Linked DNA regions of Homo sapiens: regions 1, 2, 3, 5, 6 and 7 are each linked to region 4. The links are contacts of gene promoters, found by promoter capture Hi-C in blood cells and fetal thymus (Javierre and others, 2016). All regions are on one chromosome and are shown on one strand. Each heading gives the region's core, a stretch centred on a gene start or on the middle of the fragment in contact. The rest is flanking DNA. Distances are from core to core; before and after follow the strand shown.

Evidence for each region. The method cuts DNA at HindIII sites, captures the fragments that hold promoters and counts their contacts. A CHiCAGO score of 5 or more calls a contact.
Region 1: the fragment with the promoter of ATP1A4 here is called in contact with the fragment with the promoter of SLAMF1 in region 4 in 7 of 17 cell types (M2 macrophages, erythroblasts, M0 macrophages and 4 more); the score reaches 11.2 in M2 macrophages.
Region 2: a contact is called between a fragment that was not itself captured here and the fragment with the promoter of SLAMF1 in region 4, in 2 of 17 cell types (fetal thymus and total B cells). The highest score is 5.6, in fetal thymus.
Region 3: a fragment that was not itself captured here is called in contact with the fragment with the promoter of SLAMF1 in region 4 in 4 of 17 cell types (fetal thymus, non-activated CD4 T cells, activated CD4 T cells and 1 more); the score reaches 8.0 in fetal thymus.
Region 5: the fragment with the promoter of KLHDC9 here is called in contact with the fragment with the promoter of SLAMF1 in region 4 in 1 of 17 cell types (non-activated CD4 T cells); the score reaches 5.4 in non-activated CD4 T cells.
Region 6: a contact is called between a fragment that was not itself captured here and the fragment with the promoter of SLAMF1 in region 4, in 6 of 17 cell types (non-activated CD4 T cells, total CD8 T cells, total B cells and 3 more). The highest score is 7.9, in non-activated CD4 T cells.
Region 7: a contact is called between a fragment that was not itself captured here and the fragment with the promoter of SLAMF1 in region 4, in 2 of 17 cell types (fetal thymus and activated CD4 T cells). The highest score is 7.3, in fetal thymus.

Annotation. Positions count from the first base shown.
Region 1 is chr1:160,150,324-160,153,125 of GRCh38, reverse strand. It overlaps ATP1A4 (ATPase Na+/K+ transporting subunit alpha 4), which reads right to left and starts at 1,523. Exons shown (of 22, transcript NM_144699.4): 1 at 939-1,523. The coding sequence starts at 1,085. The HindIII fragment of the contact is 4,407 bases long and covers 1-2,802 here.
Region 2 is chr1:160,205,474-160,208,173 of GRCh38, reverse strand. PEA15 (proliferation and apoptosis adaptor protein 15) reads right to left here. Exons shown (of 4, transcript NM_003768.5): 1 at 2,652-2,700. It overlaps PEA15-AS1 (PEA15 antisense RNA 1), which reads left to right. Exons shown (of 5, transcript NR_123725.1): 3 at 1,798-2,700. Among named protein-coding and RNA genes, the nearest start is that of PEA15, 1.4 kb to the right of the region's middle. RefSeq lists a silencer at 2,675-2,700. The HindIII fragment of the contact is 1,737 bases long and covers 462-2,198 here.
Region 3 is chr1:161,038,638-161,041,337 of GRCh38, reverse strand. It overlaps TSTD1 (thiosulfate sulfurtransferase like domain containing 1), which reads left to right and starts at 2,374. Exons shown (of 4, transcript NM_001113207.2): 1 at 2,374-2,458; 2 at 2,665-2,700. The coding sequence starts at 2,449. It overlaps USF1 (upstream transcription factor 1), which reads left to right. Exons shown (of 11, transcript NM_007122.5): 7 at 1-14; 8 at 466-524; 9 at 668-762; 10 at 1,008-1,136; 11 at 1,329-2,087. The coding sequence ends at 1,418. RefSeq lists an enhancer at 2,396-2,445. The HindIII fragment of the contact is 832 bases long and covers 1,035-1,866 here.
Region 4 is chr1:160,645,639-160,648,443 of GRCh38, reverse strand. It overlaps SLAMF1 (signaling lymphocytic activation molecule family member 1), which reads left to right and starts at 1,400. Exons shown (of 7, transcript NM_003037.5): 1 at 1,400-1,574. The coding sequence starts at 1,499. It overlaps LOC107985220 (a long non-coding RNA gene), which reads right to left and starts at 1,435. Exons shown (of 2, transcript XR_001738266.2): 1 at 1,109-1,435; 2 at 1-971. RefSeq lists enhancers at 1,269-1,318, 1,359-1,568. The HindIII fragment of the contact is 11,196 bases long and covers 1-1,428 here.
Region 5 is chr1:161,097,068-161,099,767 of GRCh38, reverse strand. KLHDC9 (kelch domain containing 9) reads right to left here and starts at 1,407. Exons shown (of 4, transcript NM_152366.5): 1 at 706-1,407; 2 at 263-422; 3 at 1-170. The coding sequence starts at 1,232. RefSeq lists silencers at 984-1,033, 1,094-1,273. The HindIII fragment of the contact is 8,697 bases long and covers 1-2,252 here.
Region 6 is chr1:161,009,033-161,011,831 of GRCh38, reverse strand. The region is part of intron 1 of F11R (F11 receptor); the gene reads left to right. Among named protein-coding and RNA genes, the nearest start is that of F11R, 11 kb to the left of the region's middle. The HindIII fragment of the contact is 3,097 bases long and covers 1-2,799 here.
Region 7 is chr1:161,135,866-161,138,676 of GRCh38, reverse strand. LOC112543491 (linc-UFC1) reads right to left here. Exons shown (of 1, transcript NR_156734.1): 1 at 735-2,811. Among named protein-coding and RNA genes, the nearest start is that of DEDD, 4.6 kb to the right of the region's middle. The HindIII fragment of the contact is 628 bases long and covers 1,023-1,650 here.

The DNA.
Region 1 (2,802 bases), core at 274-2,773, 500 kb after region 4:
CCAGGTCATTTCCAGGGAGAGGGGGAGAAACAGACTGGAGAATGTTAGTCCAAACTGAGACTGCTCCATTTTGTAAGCTCCCTGCAATTCTTTTTTTGAGATGGAGTCACTCTGTTGCCCAGGCTGGTGTACAGTGGTGCGATTTCGACTCACTGCAACCTCTGCCTCCCAACAGGTGTTTCTCCTGCCTCAGCCTCCCAAGCAGCTGGGATTACAGGGGCCCATCACCAGGACCAGCTAATTTTTGTATTTTTAGAGGCGGGGTTTCACCATGTTGGCCAGGCTTGTCTCAAACTCCTGACCTCAGGTGATCTGCCTGCCTCAGCCTCCCAAAGTGCTGGGATTACAGGTGTGAGCCACCACGCCCGGCCTAGCTCCCCACTATTTTACAGGCCTTGGTCAAAGTGAAACATTTCACGGGGGTTCGGGCCAGAGAAACAGCCTGCCTAACCACCTGACCACAGGGCAGACGAAGGCCCAATTAAAGACAAAGACCCCACTAAAGAAACATCCCTATCACATCCTGCTGGGCAAAGGTCCAGGGAATACCATGATTATATTCTGTGGAAACAAGGGCCAAAAATCACCTCATCATGAGAACATCTTATCGATATCCTGCCAGGCAGCAGGCCATACAGCCCAGACTCCTCCCATCCATCCCTATAAGTACCCAGCCTGTAAGTGGCAGTGGACTGTGGAATTAAGCTGATCCCCCACTTCCACAGGTGTCTGCAATATACCTGTGCTTGCTGTTGAGCTGCCCTGTCTCTCTGTGTGTATCTTTTTTTTTTTTTTTAACCCTCTCCTTCCCTCCAAAGCCTAACAGAGAAGAGATGTGGCTCTGGCCTGTGTGTTTCATTCTCAAGGTAAGATGTTAAAGATAGGTGGAGGAGTGTTTTCAGAGGGCAGCTGTCAGCGCCCACTTTGGGTGGCCTCACCATGACCACTTCCTTCTTCAGTTCCTCCATATTGCGCTTCTGTTTTTCCCTCTTCACCATTTTTTTCTTGATAAGCCCTTTTTTAGGTCTTCGTCTTGGACTCTGGTCATGGGGAGCCACTGTCCCTTTCTTCCCCCAAAGCCCCATAGCTATCCCCAGAAAGAGCTGCCCGAGCTCAACTGTGGGAAGAAAGCTGAGAGAGTGAGGCAAGGGGAAGGGAAGAGGGCGCGCGGGCAAGGGGGCCACGAGAAGAGAGTGGTGGGGAGAGAATGAGGGAGCAGAAAGAAAGAGGCAGGGAGGGAGGTGTTGGGTGGTGAAGGTGAGAGAGAGGAAGGGAAGTGAGAGAGGAGAGACTGAGCGGTCCTCCAGCCGTCCGCTGGGAAGAGGAAGAGTCAGGAGTGAGGGAAGAGGGAGGAGAGAAGCCTAGGGTGGAAGGATAAAAAGGTAGAGGTGAGGGAATGCAGTGAGGGCAGGAAACAAGAGGTGAAGCGTAACCAGGTGCCTCAGTGATGAAGATGCCGCAAGGCCCACAGGAAGGTGGGAAATGCAGTGAGAGTGAGGAGGCGGAGTGAGCTTCAAGGATCTGGGAACCCCCCAGTCCCAGGCCCTGTGGTTGCTGGGGCAATGACCCAGGTCTGGCATCACAAAGGCCTCCTGAAAGTTCTAACCAAGAATCCAGAAGTCTTGCCTTGGCGATGGTCCAGGTCTGCTGTCGCAAAGGCCTCATGAAGGTTTTAACCAAGAACCTAGAAGTCTCAGTCTTTGGGTTTGAGGACGATTGGAGCAGGCCCTGCTACAGAAAGAGTTTCAGTCTGAGGGCAGAACTAGAACAAAGTTCTTGTGTGGTCCTGCAGACTTTGGAGGCTTAGAGGTATGCCAAATAGATGACTCAAAAATAAAGCGGGTATTCGGCCGGGCGCGGTGGCTCATGCCTGTAATCCCAGCACTTTGGGAGGCTGAGATCGAGACCTTCGTGGCCAGTATGGTGAAACCCCATCTCTACTAAAAATACAAAATTTAGCCAGGTGTGGTGGTGGGCACCTGTAATCCCAGCTGCTCGGGAGGCTGAGGCAGGAGAAACATCTGAATCCAGAAGGCAGAGGTTGCAGTGAATTGAGATTGCATCACTGCACTCCAGCCTCGGTGACAGAGTGACTCCATCTCAGACAAACAAACAAACAAACAAACAAACAAACAAACAAACAAAAAACCATAGCAGGGAGCTTACAAAATGGTGCAGTTGCAGTTTGGACTAATATTCTCCCGTCTGTTTTTGAGACTCCATCTCAAAAAAAAAAAAAAAGCAGGTACTCTGTGTGTGTTTTTTAGCAAGGCACACTTTTCCACTAACATTGGGTTTGATCTTTTAATTTTAGGAGATCAGCTAGCAGAATAGATCAGATCTTGGGCTCTGGAACCAGTCCTGGATTTCAATCCCAACTCCTCCACTTGTCAGCTGTGTGGCTTTGAGCAAGTTACCTAACCTCTGTACCTCTCTTTTCTTATTTTTAAAAGAGGATACCTTCTACCTTAAGTGAGGTGCTCTACAAAAAGCACTATGTGACATATATAGTATGTGCTCAATAGGTAGCTTGAATTCAGTAGTAGTTTTATTTGTGGATTAATATGCAGCTCTTCTCAGTGAGGGTAAAAATATGCTTTTCCATGTGATAGCGTTGCATTTTCTCATTTTAAAATGATGTACTTACCTCTTCCATTGACCTTCTCTGGTGTCTCAGTAAGTGCTTTGACTATATTAACTGTATATATGTTTTGCATGTCCATAGGATTCTACCTCCTTCCAAGAATAATCTGAAGCATCTATACTTTTCTGTCAACCATTATATATATTTTTCAATTATGC
Region 2 (2,700 bases), core at 81-2,580, 440 kb after region 4:
GAGTGCTTTGAGAAGCCTGGCAATTGGGATAACCACCTGTGGAGGAGGTGGCAGCACCAAAAGAATTTCTGTGCATTTTGACATTAAGTCGTGGTAGATTATCCCTTCTAACGTTTGGTTCCAAATCCTCTGTAAATTCGAGAAGGAAGCCTGAAGATTAAGAGTTGCTGCCCGTCCCTCTTCCACATCTGTTGCAGCTGCCTAAGCCTGAGGGGAGGGGCCATCCCAGACAGCTGCAAGGACCTAGAGGTCCCTGTATTGGGCAGGAGGGGACTCCCAGGCACTCAAGTCTGTCAGTCTTCTGCCTGAAGTTGGAAGTAATCACGGAGAGGCAGAGGGGTTGGAAGGGAGAGAGTAGGGGTCCAGCTTTCCTATTTTAAATTATAACTGGGCCCCAAATTCAAGCAGTCCTGTAGTTTATTTCCTTTAATATCATTCTCAATTAATTTCTTCTTTAAGCTTTTTATCCAGCTTTGTGGGGGAGGAGGGGGTTGTCTTTACTCCTGTAACAAGGAAATTGAGGGTTCTGAGGCTCCAGGGTCAGCCTGGAAGTGACGAGAGGCAGGACATCTGGGCCCTAAAATGTTCACTTCAGTCCAAGAAGCAAAATGGATTACCTTTGGGCATGGGGACAAGGATTAGCCTTCAGCCCTTGGTCTAGAAAGAGCCAGACCCAAGATGGGGCATCAGGAGATAGCTGGCACTGGATCAGGCAGAGCAGAGGAGGGCCGGCTGATGGCGAGGAGGGGAATGGGGCCTAGGACTCTCCCCAGCCCATCTCTGTTTCCACTCTTCTGGTGTGGCACTCCCTGCTTCTATTTCTGTCTCTCTCCATCTCTCTCACTCTTTGTCATGCATTTCCTTTCTACTTCATCTTTCAGTCTCTCTTTTCCTCCTTTCTATAGGCTTTCACCCCTTCTAGCATTTCCTACTCACCTATCCAACTTAGTGGTAGCCATGAATACTTAGGACTCCTGAGATCTGTGCTTCACTGTCCCCATCTGAATATTCGGAGCTGCAATTAGGAAGGGGTGAGCATCCCTGCTACAAAAGACAGAGTAAGTTTGGTCGGAGTGGCTTGGAGATTCAGTGGTTGGCTGCCTACCAGCTGGTGAAGATATCCATCATGACATTGTGCGTGAGGATCTGTGTGAGAGAGTGAGGCGCTCTGTGATTCTGTGACCCTCTTCATGCATGATAATACATCCACACATGATGGGCACGGAATTGAGGAAGTAGGCAACCAGGGAAGCCTGCAGCCTAGGGCATCACTGGCAATTTCCCCAATGGAGTATTTAACCACAAAGGGAAGAGCAATTAAAGCTAATCGCTCTGACAGCCTGGGGCCCAGACACACGTACCACTTTCCCTAACTCCCAGTGGTCTCCCCCAACCTTCATCCTCCCTAATTTGTTTAGTGCACTCTCAAACACTGTTTGCACTTCTCTGACCATCTCTTTCTCTCACTTCCTCCCTCTCCCTGGTTCCCTGACTATCTCTAGACCTCTCTGGAGATGTCTGTCTGCTTCTCACACACATTCCTCTCATTCTCTCTCTGACTTGGGTTCCATTCTTGGCTGACTCATACCCATTCTTTTTCCTCTCCGTTTCTTCCACCCCCTCCTCCTCCATCCCTTGGCCACTCTTACCCAGAAACTAGCCACTCCCAGCACGCTAAGCCCTAACTGGACCCAGGAAGAGAAGCCACCAGAAGCCCCTACCCTCATTAGTCCGCAAAATCCTGTCTCCTTGTGTTAGAGGAATGAGACCAAGATTTTCTCCCATCTTTCCCCACAGTTTTAAAGAGGAACAATCTGAAACCATGGGGCTGGGAAAAGCTGCCAGAAAATCAGGATGGATTTGGGGACAGTGGCCCTTTCTGTCCACTCAGCTGTCCTGTCGGACTGATGACTTGGAGCCCGCAGTTCAGAAGACTCCTCATGGGATGCCCCACCCCACAGAGTGGGGGTGTGGTGGGCGGCCGGATGCGTAGTCCAGGGACGTTTGTGATTTGGAGTGTGCTAGACTATGTGTATAAGTCACATGGGTGTGTGTCACTGTGTGTGCTGGCGTGCCTTATAGGTGTGCGTGTTTCCCTGTCAGTTTTGACACGGATTATATGAAATTAATAAGGGTTTTTACGTTAGATATACATCACTTCTCTACACCCCCAGCTCCTCCTTCCCTCTGGACAAGCTTTCCGCCAAGCCCACCTCTTCCCCAGGTGCAGTGAGCTGGGGGTGAGGGCACATGGTACCAGCCGCCCGCGGAACCGAGACAGGGCTGGGCCGGGAGACCGCCAGCGGAGGCGAGTCCGAAGCCTGAGCGGGGAGGGAGGGGCGGGCGCTGGCCTGGCCGAGCCGGCTGGGCGGGAAGCAGGCTGCATCCTAATCCACAGGCCCCGGTCCGACTCCCAAACTGCCGTTCAGCGTGGAACGGGCTGGCCGGAGCCACGCCGCCTCCAGCACACGCTCGGCGCTCGGGACGCACCGACCGAGGGACGGACCCCGTGAGGCCTGACACAAAGTGGACTCGTCCGGGGTCCCCACACTCCCCGTCTGGCCCCCGGTGTCCCAGATCGTTGCCCCTCCAAGCCTAGACCCCGAAATCTGCCCCTTCCCCGCGACATGTCTCCTCTCCGCCCCTCTCACCGCCTCTGGAGCTGAGCGCTCAGGGCGCGGGCACTCCTGAGTCCCCGGT
Region 3 (2,700 bases), core at 201-2,700, 390 kb before region 4:
CACCCTTATTCCCCGTGAGTGACCCTTGTTTCTTCTCAGATTCCGTAAGTGGTTTTTTTTTTTTTTTTTTTTTTTTGAGACAGAGTCTTGCTCTGTCACCCAGGCTGGAGTGCAGTGGCATGATCTCAGCTCACTGCAACCTCTGCTTCCAGGGTTCAAGCGTTTCTCATGCCTCAGCCTCCTGAGTAGCTGGAACTACAGACATGTACCACCACCCCTGGCTAATTTTTGTATCTTTAGTAGAGACAGGGTTTCACCATGTTGGCCAGGCTGGTCTCGAACTCCTGACCTCAAGTGATCCGCCTGCCTCGGCCTCCCAAAGTGCTGGGATTACAGGTGTGAGACACCACACCTAGCTACCATAAGTGGTCCTAATACCTGCTAAATCTTGTATAATTCCTTAACCCCAAACTTCAATCATGTATTTTGTCTTCTTACTCTGGCCACCCTGGGCTCTGTTGTCAGGAAGTCAGAAGCTCCCCGGACGACTCGGGATGAGAAACGCAGGGCTCAGCATAATGAAGGTAGGTATGATCTGGGTGGAGCTAGAAGCTGTCTGGTGTGATCTCAGCAGTGATGTCTGAGGGGAGGAGGGATTAGGTAATTTTACCCTGGGACTTGTGGCGAGTTTTCACTGAGTCACCTTGTCCTCCACTTTGCCCCACAGTGGAGCGTCGCCGCCGAGACAAGATCAACAACTGGATCGTGCAGCTCTCCAAGATAATCCCAGACTGCTCTATGGAGAGCACCAAGTCTGGCCAGGTCATGGAAAGACCCTGGTAGTGGGCAGGATGCCTGAATTCTGCCTCCTGGTATTGTTTCCAGAAATGGTAGAGAGAGGGGCACACATGACAGTAGTCTTATCTCTCCCTGAGGTTCCTGTATCCCTGGGAGATATTATACCACCTTCCTTAGATGAAAATGAGGTCCAAAGTGTGAACCTACTTTTGGAAAGCAAGCTGGGTATCTGAAATCCTAGTTCTCATTTTGTTGACCTTATCTTGCAGAGTAAAGGTGGGATTCTATCCAAAGCTTGTGATTATATCCAGGAGCTTCGGCAGAGTAACCACCGCTTGTCTGAAGAACTGCAGGGACTTGACCAACTGCAGCTGGACAATGACGTGCTTCGACAACAGGTCAGACTCCTACCCCCAGTGCAGCCCTTCTCAGTTCTGCTAGCCACTGACCCAGTTTGACACCCTCTACTTTGTTCTCCATGGAGAAGGCTTCATCTTTTCCCCCTCACCAGTGGATGTCTGAATACATTCAGGGGCTTGGAAGTGCCAGCTTTACTACCCATTCCCTTTACTGCCTCCTTCCCATGTCAGGTGGAAGATCTTAAAAACAAGAATCTGCTGCTTCGAGCTCAGTTGCGGCACCACGGATTAGAGGTCGTCATCAAGAATGACAGCAACTAACTATGGGGATTCAGGGGCTTTGGGCCCAAGAACTGCAGATAGCCCAGGAGCAACAGCCTAATCCCGTGCCCCTTTCCTTCACTGCCCCACTTCTGGCATGGGACAGGGGGAAGTTCAGAAGGTGTGTCCTTGAACTGAGGCCCTGTGATATGGCGGCCTGCAGTGGTGTGAAACACACAATGTGGACGTGCACTGACAGCCTTGCCCACCCCCACCATGCAGCCCCTGGGCCCTTGTGCTCCTCTCGCACAATGCATGTGCTGTCTCCATGCTGGATACTGGACACACTAAACTCTGGGGCTTGTCCTGTGCTTGCTTAGAGTGCCCAGCAGAGGTTTGCTGACAGGTGATGCTCTGGCTTGCCCCAGGACTCTGGCACTTCCATTGGTTCTTCCTTTCCCTGGAGCTGAGGTTTAGATGTGCAACCTGTGGCTCAGGGGAGCAAGCTTACACAAGAAGTGAGGGAAGGATGTTTAGCAGTGGCTGGTGCCCATGAAGAGGAGATTGGCCAGTGAGAAGCTGAGGCCTATGCAGACATCTCTGGAGCCAGAGAGAACAACAGGCAGGGGCCCACTTGGGGCCTTCCCCCTTGTGGGGGTCGTTTTTTTTTTTTCTTTTCTTTTTTTTTTTTTTTTTTTTTTTTTTTTAAGATAAAATTGTTCAAAGCCACAGTTGTCTGTTTTTCTTCCTTTTGTGGGCCACGGGCTGGAAGGGAGGGGCACATTGCTCTTCGACCAGTAAGGGCTGTGCCAAGTTCAGGGTGGGGTGCTGCTCCTGCATTTATTACCCGGAGTCCTGGTTCCTGGGCCAGACCGGTGTGTCGTTTTTGGCCCAAGCTAGAGAATGTTAAGGGCTTCTGCGGTGGGTTGGTGCTAGAGGCGCCGCGAACAGGTGCTGCGGGGGCGGCGCGGGAGGCGGTGCCCTTGCTTCCGGATCCGGTCTCAGCTCTGGGAGGGAACGGGAGATGTTGCAGGCGCCGAGAGGGCGGGCCAGGGCCGCACTCCGGAGACTCGCGGTTGCTACGCGCACCATGGCTGGAGGTACCTGCGGGGGATTCCTGGGGCCGCGGTTCTCTTGGTCCTCTGGGTTGAGGCGTGGCAGGGAGTGGGGTGGCGGAGCGAAGGGGCGTGGCTGAGGGGTCTTCGTGCACACCCTACCGGGAGGGGCGCTGCCAGGTGAGGGGATGCCATGGCGGCCGTGACTCCTAGGCCCCCTCTTCCTGAAGGCTGTCGCGCCCCTTCCTCAGCGCCCACGGTCTCGCTTCCTGAACTCCGTTCACTCC
Region 4 (2,805 bases), core at 151-2,650:
CTAAAAGAAAAGAAATCAGTATATTGAAGAGATATCTGTACTCCCATGTTTATTACAGCACTATTCACAATAGCCAAGGTTGGAAGCGACCTAAGCGTCTATCACCGATGAGTGGATAAAGAAAATGTGGTACATATACACAATGAAGTACTATTCAGCTAAAAAAGAATTAGATCCTGTCATTCACAATGACATGGATGGAATTGAAGATCATTATGTTACGTGAAATAAGCCAGGCACAGACAGACAAACTTTGCACGTTCTCACTTGCTTGTGAGAGGTAAAAATTAAAACAATTGAACTTGTGGGCATAGAGAGTAGAAGGATGGTTACCAGAGGCTGAAGGGTAGTGGGGGTTGGGGAAGAAGTGGGGATGGTTAATGGGTACAAAAAAATAGAAAGAATGAATAAGAACTAGTATTTGATAATACAACAGTGTGACTATAGTCAATAATAATTTAATTGCACATTTAAAAATAAAAATATAATTGCACTGTTTGTAACACAAAGGATAAATATTTGAGGTGATGGATATCCCATTTACCCTGTGTGATTATTACATATTGCATGCCTCTATCAACATATCTCATATACCCCATACAAATATATGCATACCCCATACATATATATATACATACACACACACACACACACACACACACACACACACACACACACACATATATGTATATCTACTATGTACCCACAGACGTTAAAAATTAGAGGAGAAAACACACACACAACAAGGAGACTGAGCTGGAAGGATGGAGCTCTGGGATAGATTTGTCCTACATCCCTGCCTGGGAGGGAATCCACACACATGCAAGAAGACAAACTAGGAGCATGGGCTACTAAATTATACCACATTGCACTCATCGGGGTCACAGGGTTTCTTCCAAGTGACCCGCACATGCCCTTCCCATCTCTGTGTGACAGTGGCACCTGCACCAGACTGCATGTTGAGGTGTCATCTGAAATTATGAAATAAAACAGAAGTAAGAGGTCTATTAGCTCATCAAAATGCAGTTATCTAAGTTCAGCTGTGAACTGCCAAATTTGAGGAGTGATCCAATGAAACATCTTTTCTTTGCAATCCAAGAAGACTTACCGGAGAGAACTGCTCAGAGAATCTGCAACATCCGGTTCCTGGAGACAGCTAAGGAAAGAAGCTGGGGCGCATGTTTCTGCCCAAAGCCGGGTTTTGGCCGAGGTGACTACACACCCCCTTTCCTGGCTCCCATAGGCTAAGTGCCTGGCTTCTTGAGAAGCCTGCTTCTTGAGAACAAAAAAGTGATTTAAAGCCTCATGGGAGATGAGCAATCCTCAAGACACAAGCAGAAAAAGTCCCAGTGATACAGGAAGCGGGTTCAGGAACCTGCTGGTTCCTGATACATAAATCAGACAGCCTCTGCTGCATGACACGAAGCTTGCTTCTGCCTGGCATCTGTGAGCAGCTGCCAGGCTCCGGCCAGGATCCCTTCCTTCTCCTCATTGGCTGATGGATCCCAAGGGGCTCCTCTCCTTGACCTTCGTGCTGTTTCTCTCCCTGGCTTTTGGGGCAAGCTACGGAACAGGTGAGTGTTCATCTGCCTGATGGTTTGAGTCCCATGTTAGCTGCCAGGAATCAGCGTATCTTCGTGGATGGAGAGAAGGTGCAGGGCTGGGTATTGTGTTTGGTCACTCTTCCTTAGGGACTGGCTGTCAGTTTCAACTGCCTCTTTCAAAGAGGAAGGAACATTATAAGTTCCTGGGCCCTTGGGTTTCCAAGACTCAGCCCCACCAACCCCAGTTTCCAAGGAAATGAGGGGCTCTAAGCCAAAGGCTCCAGTCACTTTTCTGACCAGTCTTAGGGTGACAGGCCCTGGTAGAAGTCTTGCTTGAGTGGTTGGTTTTACATGGGCATCTTCTGGCAAAGACCCAGCCTAGAGAGACTGAGCTGGATGGACTGAGCTCTGGGAGAAGATTTGCCCTACATCCCTGCCCTGGGAGGGAATCTGTGCACATGCAGGCTGACAAACCAGGAGCATGGGTCAACAGAAAGCATTGGCTAGAGTGGGAAGAGAGAGTAGAAGTGAAAACTCCAGGCTTTTGGCTGAGAACCAGCAGTGGCCACAGTGCGGTCATACTGGTGTGTATTTTCTTGGAAGAGAAGGTCCAAGAAAGCAAGAGGGAAGAAGTTGGGATTTCTGAAGGCTAGGGCTGGTTACAGTATGTGGGAAATGCAAATTGGGAACCCTCAGAGAGTAGCTCCAGCAGGAAGGCCAGACAAGAGCTACCTTTGGATCTGGACTCTGTTCCTGTCTTTCTGTCTATCTTCTTCCCAAGGCAGGCTATTGCTTTCTGTTTAGAAGTATCAGGGCTATGAGAAAAGGTATTTGAGAAAGAAAAAGCCAAGCAAGAAGTGGACTTTGGACTGCCTGTGTGAGTGGGGTGAGAATCTCCTTCTGCTTATTTGTTTAGACTGTGGGAGGTAGCCTGGAGTAGAAGAGGTGGCATTACGGACACGGGGGGAAATCCTGAGGCCCAGGGTGTTTTAAGCTTGGGGTTTTCAAGACCGCAAATCCAATATGGACTTTTCCAGGAAAAGCACCGTGATATGCCAGGGATGTGGGGGTGCTGCACAATGGATGTGTCTTTTACCAGACAGCCAGACGAACAGGGCTTGCTCAGCCCACTTTCTTTTGGAATCTGCAGATCCATGGCTCGTACTTCCCAAGGTCTAGGGGAGGAAGAACTGAGCTCGGGGCTCAGAAAACCAAATCGAGCCACTTTAAGTGGTCACAGGGAAAGCCAAGCCTCCGTTGT
Region 5 (2,700 bases), core at 158-2,657, 450 kb before region 4:
ATGGTGTCTCTAGCTCTGGTCAGAGTTTCTCCACCAAACAGCACAGCAAAGGGCCCGACCACAGAACATGAGTGATGCCGTAGTCCATGGGGCCCCTTCTGGGACCCCTGCCCACTGCTCACAAGCCTTGCAAGCTGTTCCATCAAATGAGGAGCAACAGGTGGTTCCTCCTTGGGGAGAAAGAAAGGACTGTCCGAAGAGACCTGGGCATCACAATTTTAGCCTCTTCCCATCCTAAACAAGATGTGTGAGGAGCTAATACCTTAATTTTCCCATGACTCCAATGCCCAGCTACTTCTGGTTCAGCTAAGTTGCAACCTCCAAAGAGCAATAGCTGATGACCTGGATGGGGTCCAGGAGTTTGGAGCAGGGCCGCACAGTGACCTGAGCGTGAGGCTGTGTGGCAGCCTTCTTGCTTGTAGCTGTGGACATGCAGAAATTCAGGGCTGAGTGGGTTTTCTGGAAAATGTAAGTGCCACCGCCCTTGCCAAGGATGGATGGAGAAGAGGCATGGGGCAGTGCGGTAGGTGGGATAAGAGGGAGGGTAATACTGTAGAGAGCTCAGCTAGCTTAAACATGGTAGGTTCCCCTGGAAGGAGGGTGCTAGAGTGAGGAGGTGGATAAATTGCCTGAGAAATCTGCTTAGGCTTTTGTTTTTCGAGAGTGTGGATGAGAGTGAAAGGTTTTGGGCGGAGGGTGCCATACCAATAGGTGCGGGCGCTGGGGTCCAGCCTTAATGTGTAGATGCTTCCATAGCGTCGCTGAGTGTGGATACCGCCCTCCCGGCCAGCCACCTGCAGCTCTCGGTCAGAGATTCGGGTGCAGGTGTGACTACTGAGGCCGGCGGGGGGGCAGTCACCAGGGGTCCCTGTCCACGCCTCCCACACACCGCGCTCTGTGTCCAGTGCGGTCACTGTGGCCAAGCGGCGAGACCCGTCCCAGCCGCCCACCACGCAGAGCCAACGCCCGTCCACGGGTGCCGCGTCGTGGTGACTGCGCGGGGGGCTGCCCCGGGCTCCCAATCGTACGGCCTGGCCCCTAGCTGGGTCGAAAACCACCGTATCGCTGCTGGGCTCTCTCGCTCCTCCTGCTAGGAGACCACCTACGAGATAGAACCGTCCCCGCAGTTCGGTGCATGAATGGAAAGCTCTAGCCAAAAGCGCGTCCCGCGCCACTGGCCTCCAGGCCCAGCCTGAGCCTGCGGCCCGACCCGGGGGCACGGCCACCGCCATGGGCCCCGGGGAGAGGGAGGGCGGTGGGGTCTGCGGCTTGGAACGAGCCCCTACATGGCAGGCCAGGCACCTCGCCTTCCGCGGGCTTCCCCGGGAACCTCCCCCTACCGGACGCCAGCCGGGGTTCCCACCTCAAGTCCCGGCTTTCTCTCCGTGGTCGCCCAGCAACCACTGCAGCGGCTGCAGCGCGACCGCTGCAAACCGAAGGTCGCAAAGCAGCAGTTACCGTGGAGACAGGACACCTGGGTGGCTATCGGGAACCGTATGGTGGTGCCACCAAGGCTACGGGAGCTGTATCAGGTCAATAAAAATCCTGCAAGATTGTTAACCTCAGAAAGTCGGAGGACAGTCGGGTCCTTAGAATAAACCCCTGTGATCTCCGCTGTGAACTGATTTGCGATTTTGACATTTGAGGTGCAGGTGCTGCTCCACTAGGGCCGGGAGGGATCATTTGGCTTCAGGGTTTCTTACTCGGGCTAACCACCCCAGGGATGAGCAAGGAAGGAGAAGCAAAAGTCAGAGGGTGGGGAAGTGAAAGTGGACTGACCACTGGCCCGAGAGACAGGAGACCTGGGTTCTAGTCCCAACTATGCCCCTGACCCTCAAAGGCATTGTTTCTCTCTAGGCCTTCTCAGTTTTGTCATTCATCAAATAGGCTGTTCGTTTATTCCCAAAGGCTTGAAGGTCCCGATTGATTGGGTGGGAGAGTCCTTTCAGCTCTGGCCACTAGAGGGTAGCAGAACCCAGTCTCTCAGGTGACACACACACACACACACACACACACACACACACACACACAGAGAGAGAGAGAGAGAGAGAGAGAGAGAGAGAGAGAGAGAGAGAGAGATAGAGAGAGAGAGAGAACCCACGCAGCCTTAGAAGGGTGAAGTGGGGGAAGAGTGAGAAAATGAGAAAAACAGACTCCTACCCTTCCCTGATATCTTTTATTTAAGCCAGTTTCCAGATATTAACTCTGTCCCCCAGGACCAAGTGATAACTGAAGAGGCCCAGATGCAAGCTTTCTGCTTTCAGCTGAAGGAGGAAATACAGACAGAATTTTCCTCCCAACACAGCTGGTGTGGGGCAAAAACAGGATCTGTGTCCTCTGGGACTGGGCTGTAAGTGGGAATGATGACTGCTACTTGTGGCCTTTGGTTTCTACACATCACCTTGCTCCCCATCATACCTGAGATACTGAGACCATAGAAAGTGGCCAGGCAGGAGAATCACTTGAGGCCAGGAGTTCAGGAGTTCAAGACCAGCCTGGGTAACATAGTGAGACCCTGGCGAAAGAAAGAAAGAAAAAAAGAAAAGAAATAAAGAAAGGAAGAAAGGAGACAGTGGCCAGGGCTGCAGTGAGGATGGGCATGTAATGCAGGGTCTGATAGCACAGCAGGGCTTTCCCCTCCTCTTCCCAACTCTTGGTCCTCAGAGAACACAGCATGGGGATGGCATGGGCAGGAAAGGC
Region 6 (2,799 bases), core at 203-2,702, 360 kb before region 4:
CTAGAGATAAACACTTATTACTGGTGTTTCATTCTAGTCTTTATGAATTAATGTGTGAGATACGTCTATATTTCCTACAAAATATACTTTTTTTTTTTTTTTGAGGTGGAATCTCGCTCTGTCACCCAGGTTGGAGTGCAGTGGCACAATCTCAGCTCACTGCAACCTCCACTTCCTGGGCTCCAGCAATTCTCTGCCTCAGCCTCCCAAGTAGCTGGGATTACAGGTGCCCACCACTACGCCTGGCTAATTTTTTTGTATTTTTAGTAGAGATGGGGTTTCACCATCTTGGCCAGGCTGGTCCTGAACTCCTGACCACCTGTCTCGGCCTCTCAGTGTTGAGATTACAGGTGTGAGCCACCGCGCCTGGCCCAAAATATACTTTAAGGTCCTTTCTACATTATTCCTAAAGTATGGCTATATCATAATTTACTTATTCACCTTTTGTTGGGCATTTAGATTTCTTTTTTTTCTTTGTTATACTAAATAACATTAAATTGGCTGGGCATGGTGGTTCATGCCTGTAATCCCAGCACTTTGGGAGGCTGGGGCGGACGGATCACTTGAGGCCAGGAGTTTGAGACCAGCCTGGCCAATGTGGTGAAACCCCGTGTCTATCAAAAGTACAAAAATTAGCTGGGTATGGTGGTGTGTGCCTGTAATCCCAGCTACTGGAGAGGCTGAGGCAGGAGAATCTCTTGAACCTGGGAGGTGGAAGTTGCCATGAGCCACAATCGCGCCACTGCACTCCAGCCTGGGCGACAGAGCAAGACTCAGTTTCCAAAAAAAACGAACAATGAAACCTAAATAACGTTAAATTGTTCTTGTACATGAATTTTTTTTTTTTTTTTTTTTTTTAAGATGGAGTCCCACTCTATCGCCCAGACTGGAGTGCAGTGGCGTAATCTCAGCTCACTGCAACCTCCACCTCCCAGGTTCAAGCCTCAGCCTACCAAGTAGCTGGGATTCAGGTGCCTGCCACCACGCCCAGCTAATTTTTATATTTTTGGTACAGATGGGGTTTCACCATTTTGGTCAGGTTGGTCTCAAACTCCTGGCCTCAAGTGATCCGTCCGCCTCAGCCTCCCGAAGTGCTGGGATTACAGGCGTGAGCCACTGCACCCAGCCAAAATATTTAAACTTATCTTTGATTGCTTTCTTAGGCTATATTCCTAGAAATTGGGGTGAGATTAATTTTGACTGAGGAAAGGTATAAGAGATCAATAGACATTTGAACAGGATCTTGAAAGATACATGGGATTTCCTTGCTTGTCCAATAAAGCTACATATAGCATAATAGTTTTAGAGCCTCAAAATCAGGCAGAGTTAAGATTCCTACCTTGCTATTTGTAGCCATATGGTTTGGATCAACTGTTTTTTTTTTTTTTTTGATGGAGTCTCGCTCTGTCACCCAGGCTGGAGTGCAGTGGCTTAATCTCAGCTCAATGCAACCTCCCCCTCTCGGCTTCAAGCAATTCTCCTGCCTTAGCCTCCTGAGTCGCTGGGATTACAGGCGCCTGCCACCATGCCCAGCTAATTTTTGTATTTTTAGTAGAGACGGGGTTTCACCACGTTGGCCAGGCTAGTCTCGAACTCCTGACCTTGTGATCCGCTTGCTTCGGACTCTCAAAGTTCTGGGATTACACGTGTGAGCCACTATGCCTGGCCTGGGTCAACTGTTCTAAGCCTCAGTTTTTTCATCTGTAAAATGAAATGGTAACGGTAGTACTTCAATCTTCAATGGTACTTGTCTCATAGGTTTTTTTTTTTTTTAAGAGTTTAGTGAGAAAATGCATATAAGGCCTAACATTAATAATATGCCACTTCTACCATTATGCCATTGTCAATCATAAGACCCTCCCAGATTCATGGGGAGGAAACTTTTTTTTTGAGACAGAGTCTTGCTCTGTCATCCAGACTAAGTACAGTGGCACCATATCAGCTCACTGCAGCCTCCACCTCCTGGGCTCAAGTGGTTCTCCAGCCTCCCAAGTAGCTGGGACTACAGGTATGCACCATGCCTGGCTAATTTTTGTAATTTTTATCATGTTGGCCCGGCTGGTCTTAAACTTCTGACCTCAAGCAATCCACCCACATCGGCCTCCCAAAGTGCTGGGATTATAGGCGTGAGCCACCGCACCCGGCCCATGGGGAGGAAACTTAACTTAGACTCCACCTCAGTCACAATGTAAGTAGAGCATGGGGGAGGAGATAAATATATAGATAGATGTGGCTGTTTTGGAAAATACTATTTGCCACAGTTGTTTCATTATTATTATTCAGGTACGTAGTAATTTCCAGGAATTACATCCTCAGTGTTATAGGCGTTCATGGGCGTGCATGACTGCAGCTGATTAATTTTTTTTTTTTTTTGGTACAGATGGGGGTCTCACTGTGTTGCCCAGGCTGAGAAAACATTTATTGAATGTCAACTTGTACCAGTTTTATTATGCTAAGTGTGGGATACTCAGAATATTAAATAACACATGGTCCCTTTTCACTTGGGGTTTACCATGGGAGACATGCTTGTACACAGATGATGTCATTATAATGTGGGAATTGCTTTGACAGTGTTTTGCATGGGATAATTAAAGCCTAGGAAAGAGGCTTAGGTGAGGCTATGGTGAGGACTGGGCATGTGGGAGGTCGTTTTCCAGAAAATAATGTGGATGAATACTGCTGCCCAGATAAAGAGGGGGAAAAGGGTGTTCTACATAGCAGAAATAGCATGAGCAAAGGCAGAGATTGTGAAACAGCCCAGACTTTGCTAGGAATTTTAAGTAGTTTTGTATTGCTAGA
Region 7 (2,811 bases), core at 87-2,586, 490 kb before region 4:
TACAGATTCCAGTGAAGGAAGAGGTAACTGTGGGAGTAGTGTTTTGATAAGTAGAAAAGGATGGGCATCAGGATAGAGCTGAAGGGGCCAGTCTTTGAAAGCTGGAGGGATGTTTTCTCAGCTGAGGAAGAGACAGGAACTAATGTAAAGGAAGAAACATAACAAGCAGAGGACTTCCGCAAGAGAATTCTACACAGGGTTCTCAATCTTCTCAGAGGAAGTTCCCCCAAGTTTTTAGTTGAATTAAGGAGAGGGTGGTTCATAAGGCAAGAGATGAAGTTTTTGTTTTAACTGTACAGATGATGTATAGTTTAAGCTAAGGAGGAACAGCAGTCTAGCTATAGCTAACAAAAAACTCTAAACTGTTTGAAATATTTTTTTCTCAGTGATGGACATGAGGGTGCCCATCTCTACACAGGAGGTCCCTTTGGCTTAGCTCAGGAAATCTGCACAGCTCTCTTTGTTGGCGTTACGATCTTAGGACTTCATGTTGAAAGAGTGAACTTCCAGGGCTCCCCAAGCAGAAAATATCCCTCCAAATAAACTGACTAGTTTAGGAACAGCTGGCCAGGCAACTGTCCCAATGTTTGGAATTTGGAAAATTTGGTCATTGAAGTCTGGCCCCAGGGAAAAGAACTGAGTTCTGTGAGTCCTGCAGGGGAAGACAGATTACTTTGGAAGGCCTAATGAAGGCAAATCTCAGCCCTTCCTTCACCTTTCCATTCTTTTTTTTTGAGACAGAGTTCAATTCTGTTGCCCAGGCTGGAGTACAGTGGCGTGATCTTGGCTTACTGCAACTTCCACCTCTCAGGTTCAAGCAATTCTCCTGCCTCAGACTCCCGAGTAGCTGGGATTACAAGTGCATGCCACCACACCCAGCTAATTTGTTTATTTTTTAGTAGAGATGGCGTTTCAACATGTTGGCCAGGCTGGTCTCGAACTCCTGACCTCAAGTGATCCTCCTGCCTCAGCCTCCCAAAGTGCTGGGATTACAGGCATGAGCCACCGTGCCTGGCTAAGCTTTCCATTCTCAGTGAAGAAAGTGATCTGTTCTCTTCCCCATTGGTTGCAATAAGCAGACTGGACATCATACTATGACTAGAAAAGGCAATCCTCAGCTTTCTCTAATCCTCTGAATGGAATTGGGTTAGGTTTGGAGAGGAGAGGTGGGTTCATGGAAAGGAATTACCATCATGGTGCCAAGACTACTGAGTGTCAAACCACTTCAGAATATGGATACGGAGGGAGAATATTATTCTCCTTTAAGAAGTAGTGCCTGTGTCTGTCTTTTTTGCGGGCTTATGTGGATTACATCTGCATTCCACACATCACAGCTACCTCTGTCCTGATGGCTATTCCTCTAGGAAAAGCTAAGGAGCAATCTACGAAGACAATGAATACATAAGGGAGATTGTTTACAAAAGAAAAGTGTTCCAGTGGGTATAGAGGAAAAAATGGTCAGAGGTGAGGTAGAAATTTTTTACTTTCCCCAATTAATGAACACCTTTTCCCTTCAACCTTCTACAGGCTGTTTATTCTTGCTCCTGTAGGAAGGCGTGGCAAGGTATCAGCTTTCTCTTTGCTACCCACTGCTACTTTTAGACCACTGTGCTTCCATCCTCTTGCAAAAATTCTTCTCCCTTTGAAGCTTATGCCATCTGGCTTTACTGCCCTTTAACACCTTTTTTTTTTCTTTTTCTTTTTGTAGTGCAGTGGCAATAATCATAGCTCACTGCAGCCTCAAACTCCTGGGCTCAAGTGATCCTCCAAACCCAGCCTTCAGCACCTATTAACCTCTTTTTGTGCCAACTCTTACTATCATCCTGGGAGGTTTTACAAAAACCCATGAAAAATACAGTTAGTTCCTGACCTCCAACTCCAACGAATACTCCCACTTTCAATTCCTTAATTTCACCATTTCTAGAAAAACAGGTTTTTGTTGATGGCAGCTTCAGGGCCATAGTAAGGACTGGGAGAGGGTAGCATTCTTCTTCTTTTTTTTTGAAACAGGGTCTCGCTATGTCACTCAGGTTGGAGTGCAATGGTGCCATCAGGACTCACTGCAACCTCAAACTCCTCAGTCTCAGGTGATCCTCCCACCTCAGCCTCCCAAATAGCTGGGACTACAGGCAAGTGCACACCCACCTAATTAAAAAAAAATTTTGTAGAAATGGGGTCTCTCACTATGTTGCCCAGGCTGATCTTGAACTCCTGGCCAAAGTATTGGGATTACAGGTGTGAGCCACCACACCCAGCCAGGGTATCATTATTAAGTGTAGTAAGATTGATGGTGCCAGCACTGGCTGGTGTTGACTTGAAGACTCACTGAAAGACTGGGACTGGCAGCCATGATGCATAAGGGCAGAATAGCCTGGGGGTTGTACTGCCCAGTGATACTTGGGGAAAGGTTCAAGATCTGGATTTGACTCTTGTGCCAAGCTTCCAAGAAACCTAGGTTCAGAGGTAAGAGCACCTTTCCTATCAGCTGCCTCTGTGGGGACATCTGACACTTTCAACATCCACCCCCTTGAAATACTCTTCCCTTTGATTCTGTGACAATTATCTCCCAGGTTTTCTTCTTCTTCACTCGCTGTTCCTTTTCAAAGATTCTCCAAGAGCTCTTTTTCTACTTGTGCCTTAAATGTTGGAATTTCCGAGAGCACTCTTCTTAGCCCTCTGCTCTTTTCTGGGGAGCTTATCCAAATCTATGGCTTCAACTACCACCGAAATGTTGATGTTTCAGAATTTCTGGCCTATATATCACAGGGCTTTCTAAAAAGTAGTTTTCTGGCCAGGTACCATGGCTCACGC